Regions from separate parts of the Homo sapiens genome. Here region 2 is linked to region 1. The links are contacts of gene promoters, found by promoter capture Hi-C in human tissues and cell types (Jung and others, 2019). All regions are on one chromosome and are shown on one strand. Each heading gives the region's core, a stretch centred on a gene start or on the middle of the fragment in contact. The rest is flanking DNA. Distances are from core to core; before and after follow the strand shown. Region 1 holds the start of OR1J1 (olfactory receptor family 1 subfamily J member 1). Region 2 overlaps RABGAP1 (RAB GTPase activating protein 1).

Region 1 (7,394 bases), core at 2,425-4,924:
CCAGCAATTTGAGATGATAGTCAATGCCTATGGAACAGACAAAATTAAATTTAATGATGAAATCCAGATGAGATAAGCCTAAGAGCTTCTCCTTCTGGCCTCCTTCTTGCTCAAATGTGGCTAAAAGGGTCTTGAGACTGACTTCCAGCTGTTTATCACTTCCGCCTGATGTGGGATGAGATCAACTAACTACAACAGGTCTATCCCAGCACCAAAGGACAATTCAAACCTGGCTACAGGCTAGTTGATCAATGATATTTTTAGAGAAAAATCATTATCAAAAGAGGGAAATGTGAAAGTTGCAGGTATCAGGATGAAATAACTTTTGTCACACCCAGACAAAATAGGGCTGGGAAGGCATGAAGGAGAGGGGGCTCATGCTTACGTGTCTGAGATAAGAACTATTTCCAAGAAGTTTCTAAGAGCTCCAGAAGACATCTCTTTGTATCTTTCACTCATCTGCTTTGTACAGCTTGCAGGTTTCACACATATACATATGCTTCTATGGCAAGGTTTATCACTAGACATTCTTCAGGACTGCAGTAATTCAGATAACATGCTCTCAAATGGTCATTTGCACAGTAACAGCATCTCTACCAATGAACTGATGACAACTTTAGCTTTGAGCCTCTGGAGCCAGTGGACTCCGTGTCTAAGCAGCTGACACGAACCTCTTCCTTCTTGCCAATGAGAGCTTCCCTTTACCCTGCCCTCACCAGATGCACTGGTGGCTTGTCATTTTGTGCACCCTGGGTTATAATTTTCATTTCTCATTCCTGAATAAACTCAACATATTTGGACATTTCTCTAATTTTTTTTTTCCTAGGTGAATACTTGGCAGGACAACAGGCAGACAAGGAGCAGCCTGGGCTACACCCTCCTCCATCCAGCTTGGCAGGGAAGGTTGGGGCAGGGCCTCGCTAGGAGATAGGGGCTAGAGGGCGAGGCCAGGGGCAGGGTTAGGCATGGGGACAGCACCACGGTGGGGTCTTCCTGGCTCACTGTCCACTACCAGGTACTGGGATCCCCAGTTATTTTATTGCCTCACCATGAAAAGAAGTGAAAGCATTCCCTAAACATAATTTCATCATTGTCTTTATCTCTCTCCCGCCACATTTCTTCTTTTCTATTGCTCTTTCTCTCACAAAAGCAGGGGATATATATGAAACTTGCTAAGTGGTTCTATTGAAGCTTCTTCCATTAAGCTTGAGATAAGGAGAAAAACAACCCTCTCCCTGTTAGGAGGATTTGGGGTTCACTATGCAGCTTTCTCTGAAAGAAAACTTTACAAGACACTCTCTTACCTCCAGCTCTCAGCTCTTTTTAGATCCACATTAGATTGAGAGGCTCAAGTGTTACGATATTGATTATTATTATTATTTCCTATCAATATCTTCATTTTGTGTGTCACAATTCACTTTAATATCTGTTGTCTCCCAGGTCTTGGTGCCTCAGTTGAAACTTCCAATTTAACATCCTGACACACACTACTCCCTCTTCCTGTGATCATCAGAACAAGATAAAACCTTGTGTGTCTGGATAGTTCTCATCTGTTAAGATTCAGGTAAAGAAACGCCTTCTTTGGGAAGTTGTTTATATCCTCTTCCATCAGACTGAGCTAATTATTCCTCTTCAAACCCACACAGTGTTCCATGTAAACTATTATAGTCTTTGCTACACTGAGTCACTCTGGAATCAGATGCCAAGATTCAAGTCTTCCTTTCACGAACTATATGATCTTGGGGTATTCTTCCCCTTTTAGAGCCTGAGTTTTTTAAACTTACCTTTTGGAGTTTTTGTCAGAATTAAGTTAGATGATTTTAAGGTATATTAAGTTCTTAGATCAGTCCCTGAGAGAACTGAGGTGACATTTATTTTGTCACTGAACATCTGTATGTGTTTGGGGAGAAAGGAAGTGTGGGCTATATTCTGGAAGGACAAGACAGCAGTGTGTTAATTATTATGTAAGGAGTGAGAAATGTCATATGTTTTTCTTAAAATTTCTGAAAGGGCTTCAGCTTCCTGGATATCTGGTGCCTGGGCGAAAGAGGAGCCATATCTTCACAAAAGTGGAAAATTCCTAAGAAATAGAGGTGTGAAGGGCCAGACACATTTTATAACAAATTTAAAATCTGGGAAAGGTCAGCCCTGATGGCTTCCTTTTCATACCAGCCAAAGTGACATAACATGCTCAGAATATTTTCCAATTCCATTACCCAAGAAAAGAGCAAACAAAGTCCTATACAACATATCCTATTTTACTATTCCCTCAAACAGATGCAATAATAATATCAGGAAAGCATTTCAGAGTGACAGCTGTGGAAGAAAGACAAGTGAGCTATATTTTCAATAATTTGTATTTCTGTATTATTGAGGAAAAATATTACATGGGATGTTTTAAAAGAAAGGTAAATATCAGTTAGAATAATGGTTTTTTTTTACTCAATAATTTTTTTTTCTTTTTTCTTTTTTTTGACAGAGTCTTGCTCTGTCACCCAGGCTGGAGTGCAGTGGCACGATCTTGGCTCACTGCAACCTCCGCCTCCTGGGTTCAAGTGATTCTTCTGCCTCAGTCTCCCGAGTAGCTGGGACTATAGGCATGCACCACCATGCCCGGCTAATTTTTTTGTATTTTTAGTAGAGACTGGGTTTCGCCATGTTGGCCAGGCTGGTCTCGAACTCCTGATCTCAGGTGATCCGTCTGCCTCAGCCTCCCAAAGTGTTGAGATTACAGGCATGAGCCACTGCGCCTGACCTACTCAAGAGTTTTCTTAGGGCTCCCTTAATGTCTTTATTTCTCAGACTGTAAATGAATGGGTTCAACATGGGAGTGACTGCTGTGTATATCACTGAAGCAATTATGTTCTTGTCATTGGTGTTGCTGGATGGGGGAAGAAAATAGAGACCAATAATTGTCCGATAATAGATAGTCACCACTGAGAGGTGGGATCCACAAGTGGACAAGGCTTTGCATATGCCCTTGGTAGAGGGAATCTGGAGGATGGTGACCCCAATGTGACCATAAGAAACCAGGATGCACAGGAATGGAAGCATAATGGCTGTCAATGCTGCTGTAAAGATTGCTAACTGATTGAGGGAGGTGTCTGAGCAGGACAACTTGAGCAGGGCACCAAGGTCACAGAAGTAGTGAGGGATGATGTGGTCAGCACAGAAGGAAAGCTGGGCCAGGAGGAGGGTATGCAAAAGAGCACACGCACAAGCGATGACCCAGGACCCAGCCACCAGCATGACACACTGGCTCTGAGTCATGATGGTGGCATAATGTAGAGGATGACAGATGGCCACATACCTGTCATATGCCATTGAAGTGATAAGGAAACTGTCTAAGTCAGCAAAAAATATGAAAAAATATGTCTGTGAAATGCATCCCTTGTAAAAGACGGCTAGGTGCTGAGTCTGCATGTTCATCAGCATCTTAGGGACAGTGACAGATGAAAAGGAGATGTCAGTGAGGGCCAAGTGGCTAAGGAAGAAGTACATGGGGGTGTGAAGGTGAGAGTCTAGCTGGATGAGCAGCATGATGAGCAGGTTCCCCAGCACCGTGGTCAGGTACATGCCCAGGAACAGGGCGAAGAACACGGCCTGCTGCTCTGGCCGGATGGGGAGGCCCAGGAGGAGGAACTCGGACACGCTGCTCTGGTTCTCAGGGCTCATGTTTATATCAGCTGGAGGGCACTAGGGAAATTTGAAGGAAAAAAATGGTATGTCTTGGAATAAGAAATGATAACTGTGGCATAGTATAATAGAGATGTTCTTTTGACTTAGAGAATGTCTTCATATTTTCTTACATTTGCCACATATTTTGCTGCAAATGTGCTGAAAAAGAAATGAAGGTTTAGTCGATATAGCTACTTTCTTTCTGAATCTGGTCTCTGTAAATGATAGTACTAAAAGTTGTTTGCTAAATGTTTTTTAATACACTGTTCCAATAGCTGATGTATTGTAAGTGATTCAATAGCCTTCAATATATGAGCTGGGTGGTACTGTTATTATTTCTACTCTTTAGATGTGAAAGCTAAGGCAGACAGTCTTATAGTCACAGCAATAGGAAGAGGAGAAGCTGGGATTTGGACCGAAGTATCTTGACTCCATAGTTTCTTCTGTGGAAACAAAGCAATTATTTGACATTGGAAATCTCATTGCCTTATTTTGTGTGCAATGACCTATTTAATTCTGTATACCCTGCTTGTCTACACAGTGCATGATTATTTCTAATTTATTCATTGTTTATAGACCCCTAATCTTTTTTTAAGACATAACACTTTATTTATTAAAAAACTCTTCCATGTAAACAATTACTCCAAAAGACAACAAAACAAGTTATTTTGAGTGATTTTTCAAAGGACATACCCACATATTTTATCATGATATATATGTACTATTCTAGAAGGTGGGGAGGGTGGTACTGTTGAAAGTCCAGGTAAATAAATCATAATACGAAGTAAGCAACAAGATAGAAAATCTTTCTTATGGTTTCAGATCCATACATAATTGCTCTGATCTTTTTTTGTTTGTTTGTTTGTTTGAGACAGAGTCTCGCTCTGTTGCCAAGGCTGGAGTGCAGTGGTGAGATCTCGGCACACTGTAACCTCCGCCTCCTGGGTTCAAGCGATTCTTCCAGCTAATTTTTTATTTTTAGTAGAGACGGAGTTTCACCATGTTGGTCAGGCTGGTCTCGAACTCCTGACCTCATGATCCACCCGCCTCAGCCTCCCAGAGTGCTGGGGTTACAGGTGTGAGCCACTGCACCCAGCCTAATTGCTCTGATCTTTTTAAAGTTTAAGATAAGTGTAAGATATTTAATTCTATGTTTGAATATCAATGTGTAGCGCGAAAACATATATATATTCCTCCAGGCTCAACCACACATGTGACAATGTCTCTTGGGGACGCAGCGGTGAATTCCTCTCACAGTATGTCTAAGGAGCATTGGCTCAGTGAGATTTCACATTCAGTGGATTTCAGCCATCTCATCAATTTCTCCATGCTACTGAAATCTCATTGTTCCACTCAGAATTTGTCTTTTCCCCAGGATGGCTTTCAAAGCATTTTACTGACTGTGTCAAGCCAGAGTAAGTAAAATGCTGATGAGTTTGGATTTCCTCCTCCAGTCTCTCGGCCTTTGTGTTTTATTGTTTTGTATCTCATTTCTATATGACATCAGATGCTGTATTAGAAATTCCTGCTTGATCTTGAAATATATCAAAGGTACTGACTGATGAGGCATTAAACACAACTTAAATTCAGTCTTTAATCACTACCACTTTTAAAACATTTAATAGTGTAATTACGAAAAATTCATAAAGACTTGGAAACTTCACATCATAATAAATTCAGATATTAGCGAGGCTGTCAGATGCTGTTACTCTATTCTAAATACCAGTACCAGAAGGACGAGACAATTTCTCAACATATTTGGAAATAATACTTCAGGTTAAGATATGAGCTGGATGTCTTATTTTGGTCTATTCTTTTTCATGTTTCCATGTTCCTTTCTCTTTTTCTTGAAAGATTAGACCTAGAATCTATCATAACCAACTAATGCATACTCTATATAAATTTGTTGATCAAATAAAATGTTAGAGCTATTTAAATTTATCATAACAGCTTTATTAAAAAACTTTTACTGGGCTTAGTTCAAGAACCAGCTTTGCTCTAACAATCCTGGGGCCCCATGTTATTTAGTTGCCACATGGCCTCACATTCAAAGAAATACAATCTAAAAGCTAAAAGTAATTTTAACAGGAATTCTGTTCTTTCAGCATCTCTGAAATAGCTTATAAGCGATTTATTTTTCAACTCACATCAATATTTATCAAAGTACTCTTTTTTTTAATAAAAAGAGAGGGCAGGGATTCACTATAACATATCACAGCTTGTTACAAATAATAAATATTTGCAAGTGATTAAAACAAATAAATATTTGCAAGGATAAACCAATAAAATAATGAAGAAAAATATAGAGCTTAGAAATAGACATGTTTATAATGAGGACCATGAGATTGACAAAAGTGCATTATAAATCAGTGATAAAGTAGTAAAAAGGAAGAACTGTTCATTAAGTGGTGCTGAGGAAGTTGGCTATCAATAAAGGAAAAATAATACTATATCCCTACCTCACATCATTAGAAAACTTTATAGATTATGTTTATGGCCTTAGGTTAAAACATATTTCTTTCTAACTTGTATTTTATGTTCAAGGGTATAAGTGCAGGTTTGTTACGTAGGTAAACTTGTGTCATGGGGGTTTGTTGTACAGATTATTTCATCACCCAGGTATTTCTTTTTTTTTTTTGGCTGTTGAATCCTTTTGAAGGATCTAAAAACAAATTTTATTAGAAAGAAAATGTATTTGCTTCTTTTTTTTATTATTATACTTTAAGTTCTAGGGTACATGTGCACAACATGCAGGTTTGTTACATATGTATACATCATCACCCAGGTATTAAGCTTAGTACCCATTCGTTATTTTTCCTGATCTCTCCCTCCTCCCACCATCCACCCTCTATTTTTTATTTTATTTTATTTTTTATTTTTTGTTGAGATGGAGTCTTGCTCTGTCACCAGGCTGGAGTGCAGTGGCACAATCCCGGCTCACTGCAACCTCTGCCTCCCGGGTTCAAGTGATTCTCCTGCCTCAGCCTCCCGAGTAGCTGGGATTACAGGTGTGCACCACTACGCCCAGCTAATTTTTGTACTTTTTAATAGAGACGGGGTTTCACCATGTTGGCCAGGATGGTCTTGATCTCTTGACCTTGTGATCTGCCCGCCTCGGCCTCCCAAAATGCTGGGATTACAGGCGTGAGCCACTGCGCCCGGCCCCATCCACCCTCTAAAAGGCCCTAGTGTGAGTTATTCCCCTCTATGTGTCCATGTGTTCTCATCATTTAGCTCCCACTTACAAGTGAGAACATGCAGTATTTGGTTTTCTTTTCCTGTGTTAGTTTGCTAAGCATAATGGACTTTGGCTTCATCCATGTCCCTGCAAAGGACATGATCTCATTCGTTTTTCATGGTAAAGCGCATTTCTTAATCAAGATCCCCAAAGCACACAGGATAAATGAATCTTCCTTTAAGTTTGATAACATTAAAATGAAGTTTCATTACGACAGCAACCACCAACACCACAAAGCCACAGATGGGAGAATATATACTGCCACAAATCAACAAAACACTAGTATTCCGGACACATAGAGAACTCCTATAAATCAATAAAGAAAAGACAAAAGCTCAATAAGGAAAAGACAAGCTCAATTAAAATATGGCAAAAAATACAAACTAGAAACTCACAGAAAATGAAGTCCGAATGGCCAATAAACATATTAAGCATGTGAGGGGTCCACTTTCAAAGTGATAAAGTAAATAAAAGTTAA
Region 2 (7,394 bases), core at 2,753-5,252, 620 kb after region 1:
GTCAAGTTACATAACCAACCTCCTTATACCTCAGTTAACTTGCCTATAAGATGAGGATGAGAATAGCACACCTCGTAGAGGTGCTGTGAGGTCACAGATTTAAAGGATTTAGCAGCAGCACTGGTATATGCTAAATAAAATGGTGGCATTATTATTAGGGACAAATAGGACCCAGAACTTGTAGGAGGAGCCGTCTGTAGGGTGTTCATTCTAATACTGTCAGTTAAAGCCTTAGGACCCAAACATCTCCAACAGAACTCTAAACGCATTGAGAATTTGGGGTCCTGGGCTTATACCCTACTCTGATGATTTCCCTCCAAAAAAATAGGAAATACCACATCCATAATGACTGAGATTGCCCAGGCCACCAGAAGTCTTGGTCTTCAGTGCAGGCACTGAAGCACCCACTACTTTCTAATACTTCTTAATTTACCCTATGATTTATCCTACAGATTAGTCAGAAGAAGTTGAAAAAATACGAGAAAGAATATCACACCATGAGGGAACAGCAGGCCCAGCAAGAAGACCCCATCGAGCGATTTGAGGTTTGTTTGCTTATGGCCTACGTGTGAGGAGCTCCCATGCTTTCATTTCATATGATTGCGCCTGTAACTAGCTTTATTGAGTCCTTTTTAAAATTCAATTCCTCTGTAGGTTCAGGTTTGAGTTTGCAAATTAGCAAGCAAGATCTGTTTTTGCTTCAAACCAGCTGCCTGGTTTGTTACAGTTCAGTGGCTTTTCGTCACAGTTAACAAATAGTAGGTGCTTGACAAAGTCACTTGAATCAGTTAAGTATTTCTTTATGGAGCTAGAAAATAAGAAATTGTTGATTTGGAAACACATCAGGTCCAGCCATTTCTCTTATTGTTTCCATAGGACTTAGAAATTTATTTTGAGGTTTAGCCCTGAGAAATTTTCATTTCCATCTGATTTTTATGTGTCTGTAACTGGTTTCTTTCTACCCTTCAGCGGGAGAATAGGCGTCTACAAGAAGCTAACATGAGGTTGGAACAGGAAAACGATGACTTAGCCCATGAGCTGGTGACCAGCAAGATTGCACTACGGAAGGACCTGGATAACGTAAGTCCAACGGGTCTGAAGGGAAAGATCTCACTGAGACACTTGACTTTTCCCCTCAAGAGAAATCCTGGAATTTTAGTGATTGTTATTCTAGCCACCTGTAAAGTTTCCCGCTTGTGATACAACTTGCTTGTCAGTGTCACTTCCCTCCTTTCCTTCAGGAATTATCTGTTGTCTCACAAAGCCCTCCTTACCACATTCTTTTCTCATTGTGCACATAATCCTTGAGCTTCTTTCCCAAACATCATTTGATTAAGAGACCTTGTGGTTAATTCTTACATTACTATAATTGGCAGGAGCATTTAATCATTATAATTACGTTAACCTCCCTCCTCAGACAGGAAGAGATTTTGTTATCCTACATATTTGGTGACTGTTGAAAAAGCATTGCCAGTTGGAATGCAGCTCAGTACCTCAGCAACTTGCAGTTTCATCAGGAGTTTCTGTTGACAGATGTTTCATTTTTCTTTGCTTCTCCTAATCTTAACAATTTTGGAATGATGTCTTTCCTGGCAGAAACCCTTTTCTATTTTCTGTACTACAGACTAACCTTAGAAGAAATGGTATAATCTCTCGATCATGGTTTAGGTCAGAAGTTGGCAAACATTTTCTGTAAAGGGATGGATAATAAGTGTTTGAGGCTTATGGCCCTACAGTCTACATTGCTACTACTTAGCAAAAGCAGACATAGATGATATGCAAATGAATGAGCATGGCTATGTTCCAGTTAAAAGCTTTATTTACAAAAACAAGTGACAGGCTGGATTTGGCCCTTGGACTGTAGTTTGCCAACCCTTTAGGTTTCCCTGCTAGGCTCCTAGGATTACCTTTCTACTCATTGGTTTCCTAAAGTTCCAGGGATGGGCTCAGGCTGTTGAGGATTTTTACGGGGGTCTTACATTATATGCACTGAAATAGGGTCCATGAATTTCAGGATGTCCTTGACATCCACCAGAAGCTTACAAAAATTTTGTGTACTCATGCATTTCCTTGAAAGGCTATGCTTTCATTTAGTTCTCCTAGGTAGAAAGACTATGGTTTCATCAGATTCTCAAAGTGGTTAACAGGTGAGACAGAGACCACAGTATCTACCCATTCAGAAAATGTAGGATGGACCTGGATTCTAATGCCAGCTACTCTGCTTTCAGCTCACCTTGGACACCTTGTAAAATGAGGGGTGGTAAAATAATAGCTATGTCACAGGGTATAGAGAGAATTACATAATTAGATGTATATGAAAGCATCATTAAAAAAAAATCAGGCACAGGCATTGTTAGCGCCCTCTGCTTGTCTGCTTGTCATCTACAAATAACTGAATTTAACAGGGAAGGCTCCTCTTTGCAGTTTTTGCAGGGAGAATGTTTCAAGGTCATTAGCCCTCAATGACCAGAACCTGAGGTCTTTTGATGGCTTTTTGGCTTACCACAGTCTGCTCATCAGGGTTGAGTTTCCTCCTTACGGTGCAAATTCCCAGCATATCCTCTGTTCCTCTTTGTAGAAACACTATATGGGTCATTCTCTCCCTGTTCGGGTATTTCTGCCTAGTGAGTGGAGGGAGGCAGGTGTACATGGAGCAGGGACTACTGAAGCAGGGCCAGAGGTGTGTGCCTAACACAGCCCTCATAACAGCCATGGGTCATGCAGAAAGGAGGAAAAAAAGGAAAAGAAAAAAAATATGGGTCTTGAATAGGAGCCTTTGTGTCCTACAATGAAATTAAGAGGCAGCTTAGGCTAAAATTCCAGGTGGATTTTTAGTTTGAGCTGTTGTATTTTCCAGTCTAACAGGCCCAGTATTAACAGTGACACCCACTAGTGAGTCGTAGACTACTTATGTTCTTAAAACCTGCCCCTAAACAGTATAAACCCTTTTTCAAGTCATCTTATCCTGACACAGTAGTGAGAGAACCAGGTTTCATTCCTGATATTAGGAGTGCAAAATAATAAGAATTATAATATGAGCTCCCATTTACTGATGATTTGTGGTGCTAGGCACTATGATAAGCATTTTACTAAACTTTGATCTCTCTTACCCTTACCTCAGCCTTGAGAGAACAGTAATGTAAGTTCCATTTATGGATGAGGATTTGTTTTTTTTAACAGCTATAAAACTTGAGATTCAGTTGAAGGTACCCAGGAAGAAGCAGAGCCAGGCCCATGGAACTGGAATGCCCAGGCTTTTTTTTTACAGTGCCAGCCTGTTTCCACAGTAAATATGGGACAAGGAGCTATGAATCAATGTCATAACCGTATCAAAAACATGAGGACCAGGGATTGTGACATAAGAGCTAACATTTCTTGAGCACTTACCAAGTGCTAGGCACTGTTCTAAGTGCTTTCTATATATTATCAAATCCTCAGAGTAGGCCGTGTTGTAGAAGGGATATAATTATGATCCCCATTTTACTGATGAGGAAACTGAAGCAAAAAGAGGTTAAATATCCCACACAGATCACCCAGCTAGTGGCCAAGCCCTCAAATTGAAGGGCTGACACCAGAGCTCACCCTCCTAAGCAGGCGGCAGGGCTCAGGAGCATCACACCAGGGCCCATCCTGCAGTCATCTAAAATGCTGCAGACACACCTTTCCCACACTCACTTTCCCTTCCCAAGTTAGACTTCTCTCTGTAGTTTCTTCTGAATCATCACTGAAAATCAGCTAGATTCTTCCTCACTGAAGGGAGGAGTGTGGGGCCCTTTCATTATTTTTTTACTTTAGGGACTTAGGTTTTTGAAAGAACGTCATTCCTTTGAGCTCTTTCCTTCCTGCATCTCAGAGAAAAGCTCTGGTGTGAGGCTTTAAAATTTCCAGGGCCCTCTTGTATTTTCGGTTGATTATACATCACTTTTGTTATTCATCACCTGTCACTTTTGCTGTTCTTCACACAACAGCTGTGGAGAAATTCCATGCCAGCCACTTAATTCCTCGGTGACCCCAATCAAGCTTTCTGTATGAAATGGGAGTAATGACTAGACCTGACACTGGTGTTAAAAGGATGAGGGGAAGCTATGGAAGGTCCCTGCAGAGCTGATAGGACCATGTCCGAGTCCCCTCTAGCAGGGTCACTCCTCTGTGTTGAGACAGACATGAGAGTGAAGGAAACTTGCTGGTGAGCCCAACTGCTGTCCAGCAGGATGTAAACTCTGCCTCAGCTCCTTATTAGTTCTGTGACATTTTGCAGATTGCTGAACTTGCCCCATTGAGTTAGCTTGGCCCCTTTATTAAAAATCAATTGACCCTAAATTGGCGGGTTCACTTCTTGATTCTGTCTGCTCCGTCTGTTTCTGTGTCTATCCTTAAGCCAATACCACACTGTCTTGCTTACTGTAGCTTTATAATAAATCTTAAAATCAGTTCATGTGAGTTCTCTGACTTTGTTGTTCTTTGCATTTCTGTATCAGTGTTAGAATCAGCTTATGAATATCTAGAAATAAAAGCCTCTGGCTTTTGAGTGAGGTTCATGGAATCTGTAGATCAATTTGGGGAGAACTGACATCTGAACAACAGTTGAAGCATTCAATCCAGAACATGTTAAAATTTTCCTTTATTAAGATCTTTTTCAGTTTCTCTCAGTAGCAATGTTTTTTAGTGTTCAATTTACAAGACGTGCATGTTTTAATCTATTTTTGTAAAGTGGTATTGTTTTTTAAATTTCATCTTCCAGTTGTGTATTGCTAGTCTCTAGAGATGCAGTTGGTCTTTGTGTTGTGACCTTGTATCCTGTGACCTTGTAAAAACTCATTTGTTAGTCTGGCAGCTTTTTAAATATATTTTTTCAGATTTTCCACATATACAATCATATCATCTCTGAATACAGTTTTTCTTCCTTTCATATTTATCTGCCTCTCTTTTTCTTGTCTCACTGCACTGACTAGCATCTTCAGAATGATGCTGAATGGTTAGAGTGGACATCATTGCCTGGTTCTGGACATTAGCTGTAGGTTTTTCGTAGAGTAGGTTGAGGAAATAAATTCTCCTCTGTTCCTGTTTGCTGAGAGTTTTTGTCATGAATGGGTGTTGAATTTTGTCAAATGCTTTTCCTGTGTCTGTTGAGATAATCATTTGGTATTTCTCCTTAATTTTGTTAATATAGTGAAATAAATTCACTTTTCAATGTAAACCAACCTTGCATTCCTAGGATAAACTCCAGTTGGGGTTTCTATTTTTTATTAAAGATTTTAATTCTTATTAAATATTTATATGTTCATAAGGAATATTTGTCTGGAGTTTTATTTAATGTTTTTGTCTGGTTTTGTCATTAGGGAATGCTGGCCTCGTAAAATGAAGTGAGAAGTGTTCCCTCTTGTTTTCTTGAGGACTTTGTATATGATTGTTCTTTGATTAAGTCTTTAGTTCCCTAGTGAAGTCACGCAGACCTGAAATTTTCTTTGCAGGAAATTAATTGTGAATTCTTTTTCTTTTCTAGATATGGAGCTATGCAAATTTTCTAATTTTTCGTGTGTCTGTTGTTATAATTTGTGTCTTTCAAGTAATATATCCATTTCATCTTAAGTATGTTGATATAAGGTTGTTTGTATTCTTTTAATATTTATAAGATATGTAGAGATGTTTCATTTTCATTCCTGATGTACGTCATTTCTTTTTCCCACTTTTCCATAACCAACTTAGCTAGAAGTTTATCAGTTGTGTTGATCTTTTCAAAAGCCAGCTTTAGCCTGGGCAACATGGCAAAAATTAGCTGGCTGTGGTGTCACATGCCTATATTCCCAGCTACATAGGAGGCTTAGGTGAGAGGATCACTTGAACCCGGGAGGCAGGGGCTGCAGTGAACCGAGATCATGCCACTGCACTCCAGCCTGGGTGACAGAGTGAAACCTTGTCCCAAAAAAAAAAAAAAAAAAAAAAAAAGCCAGCTTTTGCTTTTATTGAGTTTTCTCTGTTGTCTTGTTTCATTGATTTCTGCTTTTACTTTCTTTGGGTTTCATTTGCTCTTTTTCTGGCTTCTTAAAGAGGAAGTTTGAATAACTCTGGACCTTTCTTCTTTTCTAAAATAAGCATTTAAAGTTATTAATCTCAGCCAGGCACAATGGCTCATGCCTGTAATCCCAGCACTTTGGAGGCCAAAGCAGGAAGATTGCTTGAGCCCAAGAGTTCAAGACCAGCCTGGGCAATATAGCAAGAATTTGTCTCTACAAAAAATTTTTGAAAAATAGCTGAGCATAGTGACACATGCCTGTAGTCCCAGCTGCTTGGGAGGCTGAGATGGGAGTATTGTTTGAGCGCAGGAGTTCAAGGTTATGGTGAGCTATGATCGTACCACTGCATTTTAGCCTGGGCAACAGAATGTGACCCTGTGTCTTTGAAGAAAAAAAAAAAAAATCAGAAATCTCCATGTAAGCACTATTTTCAGCTGCATTCCACATACTCTGATGTGTTGTGCTTTTATTTTCATTCAGTTCTTGTGATTTATTCTTTCACTTATACAAGTTTATTAGTAGTATGTAATTTAATTTCCAACTATTGTTTTTCCCAGAAACTTTTCTGTTATTTTTCATTTATTTCTGTTGTGATCAGAGATTATATCCTGCCTGATTTTAATCCTTTTAGAATATACCATTACTTATTTTATGGCTTATCATATAATCTATTTGGGTGAATGTACCACATACACTTGGAAAGTATGTATGTTCTGTTGTGAGTGGAGTGTACTGTGTCAATTAGGCCAAATTGGTTGATAGTGCTCAAGTCTTATGTAGAACAACTTGATTTTCTCTGCTTGTTCTGTCGCTTCCTGAGAGAGCACAGTAGAAGGTTCTGTGACTCTAACTGTGCATTTTTCTTTTTCTCCTTTTAGTTGTGTAGGGATTTGTTTCATGTAATTTGAATTTCTGCATACATTTTGGATTGTTACACCTTCAAAGGGTATTACCAAGGACAAAGAGGGACATTTCATAATGATAAAAGAGTCACTCTTTTACCAAAGTAAACAGATGGAAAAAGATGTACATACCACACAATACCATGAAAACTGGACTGGCTATAGAAATGTCAGATAAAGTAGATTTCAGGACAAAGGGTATTACCGAGGACAAAGGGTATTACCAAGGACAAAGAGGGACATTTCCTAATGATAAAAGAGTCACGCAATTTAATTGCGTGCATTTGCAGTTTGCCAGTAATTAATGGCCTTTTGAATCTGCGTATCATGCCATTCTCAGTTCCACCTTTTTTTCTCTCTCTTTTGAGACTGAGTCTCGCACTGTTGCCCAGGCTGGAGTGCAATGGTGCGATCTTGGCTCACTGCAACCTCAGCCTCCTGGGTTCAAGCTATTTTGCTGCCCTAGCCTCCCAGGTAG

Evidence for each region. Contacts are between HindIII fragments. The study calls those that stand out against the background at their distance.
Region 2: a fragment that was not itself captured here is called in contact with the fragment with the promoter of OR1J1 in region 1 in 1 of the 25 tissues and cell types used here (hippocampus).

Annotation. Positions count from the first base shown.
Region 1 is chr9:122,474,252-122,481,645 of GRCh38, forward strand. OR1J1 (olfactory receptor family 1 subfamily J member 1) reads right to left here and starts at 3,675. Exons shown (of 1, transcript NM_001004451.1): 1 at 2,707-3,675. The coding sequence starts at 3,675. The coding sequence ends at 2,707. It also overlaps a transcript of OR1J2 not described here. The HindIII fragment of the contact is 7,011 bases long and covers 116-7,126 here.
Region 2 is chr9:123,089,306-123,096,699 of GRCh38, forward strand. It overlaps RABGAP1 (RAB GTPase activating protein 1), which reads left to right. Exons shown (of 26, transcript NM_012197.4): 20 at 453-545; 21 at 970-1,080. Among named protein-coding and RNA genes, the nearest start is that of MIR600, 19 kb to the right of the region's middle. The HindIII fragment of the contact is 4,152 bases long and covers 1,927-6,078 here.